Regions from separate parts of the Homo sapiens genome. Here region 2 is linked to region 1. The links are contacts of gene promoters, found by promoter capture Hi-C in blood cells and fetal thymus (Javierre and others, 2016). All regions are on one chromosome and are shown on one strand. The core of a region is centred on a gene start or on the middle of the fragment in contact, and the rest is flanking DNA. Distances in the headings are between cores, read along the strand shown.

What was found. The method cuts DNA at HindIII sites, captures the fragments that hold promoters and counts their contacts. A CHiCAGO score of 5 or more calls a contact.
Region 2: a contact is called between a fragment that was not itself captured here and the fragment with the promoter of H1-2 in region 1, in 2 of 17 cell types (monocytes and neutrophils). The highest score is 6.4, in monocytes.

What each region holds. Positions count from the first base shown.
Region 1 is chr6:26,052,422-26,059,093 of GRCh38, forward strand. It overlaps H1-2 (H1.2 linker histone, cluster member), which reads right to left and starts at 4,049. Exons shown (of 1, transcript NM_005319.4): 1 at 3,319-4,049. The coding sequence starts at 4,007. The coding sequence ends at 3,366. RefSeq lists silencers at 716-889, 3,002-3,071 and enhancers at 1,288-1,909, 2,530-3,151, 3,562-3,611, 3,702-4,101. The HindIII fragment of the contact is 9,556 bases long and covers 1-6,672 here.
Region 2 is chr6:26,304,983-26,311,863 of GRCh38, forward strand. TRS-GCT6-1 (tRNA-Ser (anticodon GCT) 6-1) reads right to left here and starts at 591; the gene lies at 508-591. It overlaps TRQ-TTG3-1 (tRNA-Gln (anticodon TTG) 3-1), which reads right to left and starts at 6,285; the gene lies at 6,214-6,285. TRQ-TTG3-2 (tRNA-Gln (anticodon TTG) 3-2) reads right to left here and starts at 6,836; the gene lies at 6,765-6,836. RefSeq lists an enhancer at 14-333, silencers at 414-603, 6,283-6,332, 6,763-6,812 and cis regulatory regions at 4,874-4,988, 6,077-6,296. The HindIII fragment of the contact is 1,384 bases long and covers 2,077-3,460 here.

The sequences.
Region 1 (6,672 bases), core at 2,799-5,298:
GTGGAAACATGTTTGCAGAAGACATTCGAGGTTAGGATTAATTGAAAGTACATAAATCAAATGGATTAAGACCCCAAAGGGCATTGAAGGAAAATTAGAAAATCAGCTATTTTTGCTTGGGTTGATTCCTCTCCTGACTAACTCTTGGAGATGATAAGAACATCAATTAAATGGGTAGCCATGAAAGTATCTAAGGGAGAAAGGAACACAGAAGTTCAATGTACCATAACTTTATTTTTATTTATTTAGTTTTTTGAGAGAGAGTCTGGCTCTGTCGCCCAGATGGAGTGCAGTGGCGTCATCTTAACTCACTGCAACCTCTGCCTCCTGGGTTCAAGTGATTCTCCTGTCTCAGCCTCCCGAGTAGCTAGGATTACAGGTGTGTGACACCACGCCCAGCTAATTTATTGTGTGTTTTCATGGCCAGGCTGTATTTTCATGGCCAGGCTGGTCCTGAACTCCTGACCTCAGGTAATCTGCCTGACTCAGCCTCCCAAAGTGCTGGAATTACAGGCGTGAGCCACTGCTTCCGGCTTTTTTTTTTTATGACGGAGTCTCGCTGTGTCACCCAGGCTGGAGTGCAAGGTCTCGCCTCACTGCAACCTCCGCCTCCCAGGTTCAAGCAATTCTCTGCCTCAGCCTCCCGAGTAGCCGGGATTACAGGCGCCTGCCACCATGGTTGGCTAATTTTTATACTTTTAGTAGAGACGGGATTTCACCATCTTGGCGAGGCTGGTCTTGAACTCCTGACCTCGTGATCCACCCGCCTAGGCCTCCCAAAGAGCTGGGATTATAGGCGTGAGCCACCGCGCCCAGCCTTTTTTTTTTTTTTAATTGTTTGATGTTGAGATGGAGAAACAGGAGGAGGTGGAAGAGATCTTAATATACATATGGAAAAATAAAAAATGGAATAACCAGGAAAATTCTGAAAAAGAAGAGTAATGAGAGAAAATTAGCTCTATCTGCTATTAAAGTCACGTTACAACATCTCAGTTAATTAGTCTCCCAAAGGGGAGACTAATGTAAATGCATGTTTAATAAACTGCACCCCCAGTGGATGCCTGAAACCACAGATAGTACTGAACCGTATATACACTGTTTTTTTCTATATACACATGGCAATGATGAATTTAATTTATAAATCAGGCACTGTAAGAGATTAGCAATAACTGATAATAAAACAACAATTATAACAATATACTGTAATAAAAATGATTTGAGTCTGTGAACGGTGGTTCACGCCTGTAATCTAAGCACTTTGGCAGGATGAGGTGGGCGGATAACCTGAGGTCAGGAGTTCGAGACCAGCCTGGCCAACTTAGTGAAACCCCGTCTCTACTAAAAATACAAAAATTAGCCGGGCATGGTGGCAGGCCCCTGTAATCTCAGCTACTCGGGAGGCGGAGGCAGGAGAATCGCTTGAACCCGTGAGGCGGAGGTTGCAGTGAGCCGAGAACGTGCCACAGCACTCCAGCCTGGGTGACAGAGGGAAACTCCGTCTCATAAATAAATAAATAAATATAAATATAAATTATATGACTGTGATCTCTCTCAAAATAGCTTACCGTTTTACTTGTGATGATGTGAGATGACAGAATGCCAGTAATGAGATAAAGTGAGGTGAATGGAGTAGGCATTGTGAAGTAGCATTAGGCTTGATAAGATACTACAGATTTAGGTATTAGTTGAACACTTGCCATTTGTCACATAATCATCTCAGCATTGAGGATAGCACACAACACAATGTTTAAAACAATACAATTCTACCTTAAGAATTGTGGGAATGACTAAAGGAACAAAATAGAAACCTGAGAAACCTAAGACAGTCCAACTGTCCATGAAATTATAGCGTATTAGCCTATGACAAAACAGCCAAAATTGATAGGAGCGTGGAGGGTGGCACGGGAGGAAGAAGGGGGAAGCAGAAATGAAAGTTCATAAATGGTCTTGGGAAAAATATGTCCATATGTTAAACCTTACACCAAAATAGAGGGTTCACCATGTTAAACCGTGTTGTAATGTAAAATTAACAACACAAAATTACTTAAACCATGGGAGAATGTTTTCTCCTTCTTCCCTGCCTCTGTCTTCCTGTCTCTCTGCTTGCCTCCCTCCCCTTTCTCTTTCTTGGGATGAATCCGTGGTCACTATCACTAACAAATCAACTCACTATATTAATCATTGTGGAGATGGTAGAATAATTGAGCAGCTTATCTCCAGAAGCCCCAGTCCCCATAATTTAGGTCTCACCAAAATGTGCCCACCAGATTTTAAAAGAAGCGAATATAAGACGCTAGGCTTTCTGTATTCAGAAGCACCATGGATGTCAAACAGAGGGAACCATTAACGAAGGCCTTTATTAGAAATGTCTCCCATTTATCCATACACTCTTCATAGTTAATAGTACAAATACTGTTTTCTGCATAGAAACATTTGGACTGCCAAACAAAATACGTTTAAAGGAACTTCGATTTTTAAATGTTGCTGTCTGTCTAAACAGGATAAGCAACCGTAGTCATGCGAGGACAAAATGGCTGGCTAAAAGTTGTGCTTTCGATACGCTCAAAATCGATACGCTCAAACCTGTCAGTTTAGCGGAAGGCTACATGTTATGTGGCACAAAAAACTCCCTAGGTCCACGATTGCCTTGGGTGGAGGAAGGGCTATTGCCGCTGTTGTGGCTGTTTTTTAAATGCATTCCTTCGTTGCCACAGGAATGAGAAATTAACAGCAGAGGAATGTAGGACAAAGGTACCTGCACGCACTCTCCTCCCAGGGCTGGATGTTGCCACTACCTCCAGGAGACATCAACTTGACTACCAACAACATGGAAAGCGTCCGAAATCCCAGACATTAATATAAAGAGAAAAGAGGCAAAACTTTTAAGTCACAGTAAAGCAAAAAACACAGAATAAGCAACGTCTTCCACCATCCAATTAAATACAGAATGAAAGTCATGTACTAGAAGAACGGACCAACCCGGGAGCAGGGCGGGACTTTTGAAAATTTTTTAGTCCAATCCGGACATCCCTTTAGACTAAGAAACTGGCTCTTGTTTTGCGGTCTTTTCTGCCGTTCACAGGCCTGGGGCGGGACTGCCATCCCAAAACCATCCGCCAGCGAGAAAAGCCTCCGGTCAGGGACCTAGAAGCCGCAATAAAGGTTTAAATGCTGTAACCTCACCACGGCCACTCTCCAACCCCGTCACCCAATTCGTCTGATACCTCAGTAACTCCCATACGACTAACCTTAAGTAACAGGGCAGAACAAGAAAAGGCAGATAGTAAAGAAATTATCCAGCTCTTTTATTGAGATCAGTGGTGGCTCTGAAAAGAGCCTTTTGGGTTTTAGAAGTAGGCGTTCGCCTATTTCTTCTTGGGCGCCGCCTTCTTAGGCTTGACAACCTTGGGCTTAGCGGCCTTGGGCTTCACAGCCTTAGCAGCACTTTTGGCAGCTTTCTTGGGCTTCGCAACCTTGGCCTTCTTTGGGCTCTTAGCCACTTTCTTGGTTACAGTGGCCGCGGCCGGCTTCTTCGCTTTCTTCGGTGTTTTCTTAGCGCTCTTCTTCGGAGTTGCGCCGCCAGCCGCCTTCTTGGGCTTCTTGGCTGCCCCAACTGGCTTCTTAGGTTTGGTTCCGCCCGCCTTTTTAACCTTGGGCTTGGCTTCCCCGGAGGCTGCCTTCTTGTTGAGTTTAAAGGAGCCAGAAGCACCGGTGCCTTTCGTTTGCACCAGAGTGCCCTTGCTCACCAGGCTCTTGAGACCAAGTTTGATACGGCTGTTGTTTTTCTCCACATCATAGCCGGCGGCAGCCAACGCTTTTTTCAGAGCAGCCAGAGAAACTCCGCTACGCTCTTTAGAGGCGGCCACAGCCTTGGTGATGAGCTCTGACACCGGGGGACCAGACGCCTTACGAGGCGTACCCCCAGCCTTTTTGGCCGCCTTCTTCTTTACAGGGGCCTTCTCCGCAGGAGGCGCGGCAGCGGGAGCGGCAGGAGCAGTCTCGGACATGTTGAGAATCAAAAACTCGGGTACAAGTGGCAAAGCGCCGATGAAGCAGCGCCTGGGCAGGGCCGCTGTATATATAGAGCGCAGGCGCGCTCTGATTGGTGCTCTGGTCGCCCGCCTGGCTGGCAGGCTCTGAGCCGCTGCGCTGCTCCCAAGTTGTGTTTGTTCCACCTCACAAAAGGGGAAAAATATTAAAATTCCCCGCACCAAATCACTTGGGTTTGGTCAGGAAAGGATCTCAGAAGCCTCGGGCTTCATGCTCTTCATTTATTTTTTCCACAAACACAAAAACAACGCGTCCAGGCGTCCCCAATTCCCCCAACTCCGAAGGAAGTCTGGGGCAGTCAGAGACCACTTTCTGTTTTTCTTATAAATTACCTGTTCGCTCCTTTGCCCCTGAAGGTTCTTTTTCCCAGGGGTGGTTGGGCACATGCTTCCCTTATTTTTGAAGAAAAAAGCGAAATGGTTTCCACCTAAATTTTCATGATAATTCTGTTTCTTCACAAGGGAAGTAACACAGGTCCTCTGTGAATTCTTCGTGCAGTCGCACAGGAACTGTGGACTGGGACAAGGATTCCACGGCCAGTCCAAAGCAATTAGGGCGGGATGGGAGGGGGTTCATGAGCCTTGCTAGGGTCCGGGGTGGTGGGGGGCTACAGACTTAAATCTTTGATTTGAAGACATTGAAACTATCAAATCCCTCTTTTCATAGATGGGGGTGGGGCATCCTTTTCACTTCTCTACAGGCGAGAAATTGGGCTCTTTTTAAAGAGCTCTGAGGTCCCCCTCTGAGTTGTGTAAGGCAGGAGGTCTGGCCCTCAAGATAGAGATCATAAAGGAACAAGGGAGAGCCCTTAAGCCTGCAAAAAAGCCAATAGATTTGGCAGTTAGAGGCACTGAGATAATATGTTTTCAAAGAAAACAAGCATTTTTTATTTATTTATTTTTGTACGCTGCAATATAGAAATGAATTTCAGCCCATGAAAATTGTAGGTTACTTTCAGTAACCATACCTTACGCAAGTTACCATATAGGACAATCTCCAGTTGGGAACTCAAATATATCTTTTGAGTTGCAAATAAAGCAACTGACTTTAATAAAACACACTCTTGACTTTTAAGATGAACAATGTATTTGAAATTTATTTTTTTAAATAGCAAAATTTAACACAGAAAGACAAGAAAAGTACCAGAACATGTAATTTATTATAAGATCTGTTGTTGATGAGCTGAAAAATCACCTCTTCTCATCCCCTCTGAAACTATTCTGTTCTAAAGTTTGCTACTTTAAGGTTCACTACTTCTTATTTTACTCTCCGACCCCAAGTAATTGCTATTTTTTTCTTGAGATTAAAGGCAAAGTAAATTGTCTGCCCATATATTTGATATAATTATAGATTCATATTTAGGGACAAAGGTAATATTACAACTCCCCAACAATTTCTGCTCAAATATATGTTTTCATGAAAATATGTGTTAAAGAGAACAGCCTTAGATTGTGGGAAAGTCAAAAGGGAACCTACAAATAAGAGTTCAATGACAAATGAAAAGTGAAACATCTTTTAGACTAAGGGTGACCCCATTGTTTTATTAAATAACATTTGTCCAACATTTGTAAACATTGTCTGCTTGTGTGCTTATGTCCTCTGGGAATTAACAGTCTAATGAGATTAGTGATGGATGAATTAGCAGTGGTGGAAAAACACTTAGACCGGCTATTCCTCAGAGTGACAGGGTATAAGAATTATACAAAATTATGGAAAGTGTATAAACAATTGAAGCACCTGCATCATACTAATATATTGTAGTAAAAGAAATAATATAAGGCTGGGCCCCGTGGCCCACGCCTGTAATCCTAGCACTTTGGGAGACTCGGGGGCGGATCACCTGAGGCCAGGAGTTTGAGATCAGCCTAGCCGACATGGTGAAACACCATCTCTACTAAAAGTACAAAAATTAGCTGGGGGTGGTGGCACTCAGGAGGCTGAGGCAAGGGAATCGCTTGAACCCGGGAAGCAGAGGTTGCAATGAGCCGAAATGACGCCACTGCACTCCAGCCTGTGCAACAGGGTGAGACTCAGTCGAAAAAAAAAGAAAGAAAGGAACAATATAAGAACATGTCACTTAGGCCAGGCTTGGTGGCTCACGCCTGTAATCCTAGCACTTTGGGAGGCTGAGGCGGGCAGATCGCCTGAGGTCAGGAGTTCGAGACCAGCCTGGCCAGCATGGTGAAACCCCATCTCTACTAAAAAAAATACAAAAATTAGCCTGGCGTGGTGGCAGGCAACTCTAATCCCAGCTACTCAGGAAACTGAGGCAGGAGAATCATTTGAACCCGGGAGGTGGAGGTTGCAGTGAGCCGAGATTGCCTCGTTGCACTCCAGAAGCCGAGATTGCCTCATTGCACTCCAGAAGCCGAGATTGCCTCATTGCACTCCAGCCTGGGCAACAGAGCAAGACTCCATGTCAAAAAAAAAAAAATAAAATAAACATTTCACTTAGATCTTATTCTATGTGCAATGAACCCCCTTCTCATTTAAAACTCAGCTAAGTATATCCATCATGAAAATAGCTATGAAACGTCTTGATTACCAGGTAACTGGACCTTCTTTCACTATAAATTGGTGTCCTGGTTTATAAATCGACATGTAAATTTAATCGCTGTGATT
Region 2 (6,881 bases), core at 1,519-4,018, 250 kb after region 1:
CCAAGGCACTTGCAAAACGACCACTAGACTCCACCCCTCTAAAGATTTCGATTTAACTGGTTCTAGGGGAGAGGAGGAGACACGAGCATTTTGAGAAATCTCCCCAGTTATGTATAATTAACAACCACCGGATCACAGCTAGATAAGGAGAAATGCTAGGCGCTACTCAGGGGGTTAAGCAAAAAATCAGAGGGTCGGAAATCAGTTTTCAACTACAAGAGTCTTGCGGATCTGGAGCAGCGGTGGATACACCTCTGCCTGCGCGGAGGGAGCGGAGCTAAAATACTGTAATTTTTCGGACCTTTATAAAATAGAATCAGTAATCATGTTACCAACAGAAGGTTGTTAGTGCCAGCACACGTTAGTGTGCTAATACATACTGAAGAATACCTCTCTTAAAGGGAGCTAAAAACACCTAATTCTCAGTGAGCAAACGGGGAGGTATAGCAGACGATACCTTACTGAGGGGAAACCTTTAAAAAAGCCCAGTTAGCAGGGAAAGCCGAGCGACGAGGATGGGATTCGAACCCACGCGTGCAGAGCACAATGGATTAGCAGTCCATCGCCTTAACCACTCGGCCAGGCCTCTCCTGATATGTGTAATGTTTCTCTTCTCAACAGTTTCATTTGGCAATTCCTATTCTTTTGTTAAATGTTTTCAGTGACGGAAATAATGGATAAATGGCCCTCTTACTCTCATAAAGGAAGAAAAACTAAAGAGGAGACTGGGAGGGAGGAATAGACCCTAATAAAGATGACAAAGTACACTTTCTAAGGGAAAAATAAGAGAAATTAAAAAGGAAAAACGAATTAGTGACTGCTCCTGTTTTTTAAATCAAATTGGATTTTGTCTTTTTTCTTAGGTCATGTATATGAACACCATCATTAAACCAGGTATGTCTGTTGTTGCATTCCTGGACACTCCCTGGTAGGATTCCCAGAGGGATGCCTGCCATATGATGGCACTAACGCATCTGAGAAATAACCATTGTCTCTCCTAGAAGCCCAAGTGGGTGACTGGTAAAGTGTTGAAGTGATGGGTTACAGTCAAATTGTGATTGGTTCTGAGTGTCAGACCCTAGAGTTTGGACTGTATCTTAAAGAATCGTGGGGCCATCTGAGGGATTTTTGTTTTGTTTTTGCTTATTTTGCACAAAGAAATGTGATGAAAATGATACTTAGTGTTGTCATTTTTATTATCTGTTTGTATTTCATTTAAATTCTAAATTAAAAAAATAAATTTATTTTTATAGAGACAGGGTCTCACTATGTCACTCTGTTGCACAGGCTAGCCTCAAACTCCTAGGCTCAAGCAATCCACCCACCTTGGTTTACCCAAAGTACTGGGATTACAGGCATGAGCCACCATGTCCAACCTTTCTTTGGTTGTTTCTGACTCATTTCATCACAATCAGAGAAGTCAGTCTGATGCTAATGTTCTGTGAAATTAGGCAAAACAGAAGAACCCCATGACTTAGCAGTGACTGCCTGGCCGATTCCTGACAATATGCAGGCCTAGTGAATACGGTCAGACCAGTTCCTGGATACCAGGGGCTGTTTTCTCACCTATACCCAATAAAATTACAAAAACAATAATATTGTGTATGTGTGTGTTTTGACATGATGTAGCATTAAAAAAATAAGGCCGGGCACAGTGGCTCACACCTGTAATCCCAGCACTTTGGGAGGCCAAGGCTGGAGGATCGCTTAGGCAACATGACGAAACCCCGACTCCACAAAATATACAAAAAATTAACCGAGTGTGGTGGCTGGTGCCTGTAGTCCCAGCTACTTGGAAGGCTGTGTTGAGAGGATCAGCTGAGCCTGGGAGGGCGAGGCTGCATCAAGCCATAATCACACTACTGCACTCCAGCCTGGGTAACAGAGTGACAGAGTAAGACCCTGTCTCAAAAGCAAAGCAAAGCAAAGCAAAGCAATTAAGAATATGATCAAGATTCAAACTGTATCCCCTAGGGAGTTACCAAGGAATTACCTAACAAATATCAGACATATTAGGTATCAAATCACCATCAAAACATAGCAGGCCAGGAAATGTACGAATTTTCATTTTTTTAAAGCTTCAGTTAGCAACAAATTCTAAAGTGTTCTGAAAAGAAAAACTATTGCTTGGTCTTGATTGTGTTTGGATTAGAAATTATAAAGCATGATAAACAAACCTGGACCTGAAGGGTTCATTAGTTCTTTGATTCATTCAATGTTTTGATGAATATTTATTGAGCATTGCGTATGTTCCAGGCATTGTTCTAAGAACAAATGTATATGCCACACACAAAATTCCCTGCCCTGGTGAAACCTAATTATGTAGAAATAAGCAATAAACAACTTATAAAGCAAAATATAGGCCAAGCACAGTGGCTCACACCTATAATCATAGCACTTTGGAAAGCCAAGGCAGGCAGATTCCTTGAACTCAGGAGTTTGAGACCAGCCTAGGCAACATGGTGAAACCTCATCTCTACAAAAAATACCAAAATTAGCTGGGCGTGGCGGTGCACATCTGTAGTCCCAGCTACTCAGGAGGCTGAGGAGGGAGGATCGCTTGAACCCAGGAGGTCGAAGTTCAGTGAGCCAAGATTGCACCACTGCACTCCAGCCTGGATGGCAAAGTGAGACCTTGTCTCACCAAAAAAAAAAAAGCAAAATACACAGTATGTCAGAGGATGGTATATGCATAGGAGTGGTGGCAAGTTAAATAGGGTGGTCAGGGGAAAATTAGCTCAGTGGTTTTCCATGCTGCACATTTGAATCCATAGGGAACTTTTGAGAAGGATTCATGTCAGGGCATTATCCCTATAGATTCTAATTCACTTGTTCAGTCATGATATTAAAAGAGAGTAGCAGTCAAGCTCTTCAATACTGGCTTGATCATAAAGGAAGATACACAATGGAAAACTAGTTTTAAAAAGGTGAGGCAAGAGATAATTTTCCCAATCCAAAAGGTACCAGGAATTGCTCCCAATACAGCACTTCCTGACCAAGCAAAAGAAGGTGTCTGCAAAATATCAGTCATAGCATTAGACCAGCTCCAATTAGGGCTTATTCTGCCCTGAGGTCTTTACAGTGTTTAACAGTGTGGTGGCCACACTTCCTGTGTAAACTCCTCCCTTTGAATGTTGGCTGGATCTAGTGACCTGCTCCTAACCTACAGAATATAAAAAATGTGATAGGATATTACTTTCATGATATCTCATGTGAGATATGTGTCTGTTGTTTTAAGCTGCCAATTTGGGTGCAATTTGTTATACAACAGATAACTAATACATGCAGGAAGGCCTGATCAGCCAGAGAGCAGTGGATCCTATGGCTGAAAGGGAGTATAGTTGAGAATGTAAAAATACAAGACATCATTGCCATAAATTTGCCAAGTCTGAGTTCAGATGCTAATCATTACATCATAGACCCTTTCCATAAGATTCTCCTATTGAAAGACTTGTGTATAAGCTTGGTGTAAATCTATACATTATCTTTTTTAAAAAAGCCATGACCAATAGATTAAATCTAAAGAGCATTAACAAATGCCTGCTATTTATTAATAAAGGGTATGGTAGGCTAAATAATGACCCCCAAAATAGGTCCACAACCAATCACCAGAACCTGTGAATAAGTTACCTTATGTTACCTTAAGTGGTCAAAGGAATTTTGCAGATGGGATTTCATTGAAGATTTTGAGATGGGGAGATTATCTTGGATTATCTAAGTGGGTCCAATGTAATCAAGAGGGTCCTATAAAAGGAAGGCAGGAGGTTCAGAGTCAGGAAAAGAAAATGTGACTACAGAAGCAAGAAGTGATGCAAGGAAGGGGCCACTAGAAGCTGAAAACGCCAGGAAAATGAATTATCTCATGATGTCTCCAGAAGATACACAGCCCTGCTAATACTTTTATTGTAGACTTCTGATATCCAAAACTGCAAAAAAACATTTAATTCACGTTGTCTTAGCCAGGGATGGTGGTGTGCACCTGCAGTCCTAGCTACTTGGGAGGCTGACAGGGAACGATTACTTGAACCCAGGAGTTTGAGGCTGCAATGAGCTATGATTGTGCCACTACAGTCCAGCCTGAGTGATAGTGTAAGACCCTATTTTAAAAAATAAATAGGCCGGATGCGGTGGCTCACGCCTGTAACCCCAGCACTTTGGGAGGTTGAGGCGGTCAGATCAAGGTCAGGAGGTCGAGACAAGCCTGGCCAACATAGTGAAACCCCGTCCCTACTAAAAGTACAAAAAATTAGCCGGGCTTTGTGGCGGGTGCCTGTAATCCCAGCTACTCAGGAGGCTGAGGCAGGAGAATGTCTTGAACCCGGGAGGTGGAGGTTGCAGTGAGATGAGATTGTGCCATTGCACTCCAGCCTGGGCGACAGAGCAAGACTCTGTCTCAAAAACAAATAAATAAATAACAAAAAATAAATTCATATTGTCTTAAACCACCAAATTTGTGGTAAGCAATAGGAAGCTAATAAAAAGCCACTAAGATAGTACCATGAATAGGGCTAAACAGGCAGAAAGAAGTCTACAGGGCTTTTTTCTGGAACAATTTTTAGAGGCCAGAGGAGTTCATGGAGCTCACTTTTGTTGTCATTGAGAGCCCTGGAGGATATGTTTTGAACTGTAGAGAGAGTCAACAGAAGGAATTTAGAGTCCCACCAACAGTTGGGATTTCTGTATTTGGAGTCCAGAGTGTTAACCGTTATACCATGGTATCTTTGTATAACAAAGGTTCTAGGGAAGACTTGTATACTATTGCATCTGGTCAGTTAACCTTTAAAATGGGCATAGATTCAATGTAAGGAACACTAATAGCTTCTCATAGGGAGAAAAATGCAGGTTCTCAGATGACTCAATTTGTGGTTTGCACATATTCATGCCCGAGTCCAGAGATAGCATAGAGAGCATTCGGAGTGAGCTCTGAAGAAGAAAAAAGTCATAGGTGGGGCCTCTGACACATGAACCTTTACTCATCCCAGCAGATGATTAACTTACAGTGGTCTAACTGACTTCAGGCTCCAGCAAAGCAAAGCAAAGCTTTCAAAAGAAGAGCTTCTAGGATACATGAGGGTGATGGGCAGTGGACAACTTTCAGTAGCCAGAGAAAAGAGCAAGAAGCGGGATGTTGCTCCAGAAAAGAAGTGCAAATATGTGAGACTATCTATACATGCCCAAGTGTGCTTCTCCATTTGGGTAAACTCAAGAGCAAGGTCACCAAAACTGAGACAGGTCCACTGAAATTTGAAGCCTAGGTGCTAGCCATTAAGTCACCAGGACATGGAAATTGAATCCCTACTGAAAGACTGATGTGTACTTTTAACATACCAGCTAATCTTTCAAATAATGTGGACAATGCATTAGCTTAAGGAGTTTGGATGGCGCCCCAACTGAGTACAAACGGCAGAGGCTCTAAGATGTGTACAACTGCAGTGCTGTGCAGTCCAAACATTTTAAGGACAGTGTTAGTGCTTAGAAGCAGATGGGACGCTTTAAATAGGCTCTAGAAAAGGAAGAAACTGAGATTGGGGGCTGTAAAACAAACTCTTAATCACTGGGGCCAAGATTCTAACTTACCAGAATCTGAGAAACTCTGGGCAAAAAGGCAAAAAGAGACATCAAGTAAAATAGGAGTAGGGCTAAAATTTCAGAGGTCAGTAGATAGAGACAGTTTTCTCTAGGACAGAGTGCCATGATGATTGGCAGCGCTTGCAGCCAAGTGGGTACACCTCGAAGGTGGGCTAATGATTTAAGAGAACCACAGAGGAACATTGACCAAGATGTTGCTAAAATCCCAAAGAGATTTGGACTCAAATTCCTGGATTCAGCATCCCGAGTGCTAACCGATATACTATGGGACCCTTACATGGGGCACTTGCTACTATAATTCTTATGTAAATCCTTGCATTTTGAGGGGCTTCCAAAGAAGAAAACATTCGCGGGAGGGACCTCTGACACATAAACCATTAAGCACCCTGAGCACTCAAATAACACCCTGGCTGCCTTTGGGAACTCAGGGAAGTGTGGATGCTAAGAGAAAAGACCAAGAATGTACAAGGACATGATACTACTCAGAAGCTAGAAATGACAGTCAGGAGTTACATGACACTTGCTAATCCGAAGAAGAAACCGTGAATGAGAAAGTAAATCCACAGATCGCTGTGTGTTGATGATTTAAGAGACGAACGAAGGATGGGTCACAAAAAGCAGGACAGGTCCCACCGAGATTTGAACTCGGATCGCTGGATTCAAAGTCCAGAGTGCTAACCATTACACCATGGGGCCGCCTTCCGCCACCAATTTCATGAATTTATAAAAATACTGATTACAGAGCATGTCTATTCGATGCAGTATTCTATTAATATTTATTAAATTAATACTATCTGCATCCCATGTAGCAGAAGCTCCAAGAGACTCACATGCACTACAAACCTATCTGGACCAAGTCCGTCTTAGAAACTGAAAAAACTTGAACCCGTTTGAGTATTGTTCAAAAAAGGAAAGAACTGAGGTCTGGTAGGTGAAAGACGTATCCTTAAACTTGCGTATGATAATTTAAATCCGAGGAACTCGCATCCAACAAGAGAGGAGGGGCAAGAGAGAACAGATGTGAAATTCCAGGTGAAAGATTAGAGGATGCTGTTCTGCAGGAAAGCATCGTGCTGCCGACTGGGATGGGATGTTAAGGTGCTTAAGTGATCAGGTGTACGCTCCTCTGGGTACAATGGTAATTTGAGAGAAAGAAAGAGCACTAAAAGTTTGGTAGGTCCCACCGAGATTTGAACTCGGATCGCTGGATTCAAAGTCCAGAGTGCTAACCATTACACCATGGGGCCAACAACACAGTAATCTCCTGACATATTTTTGATAACATGAATGTA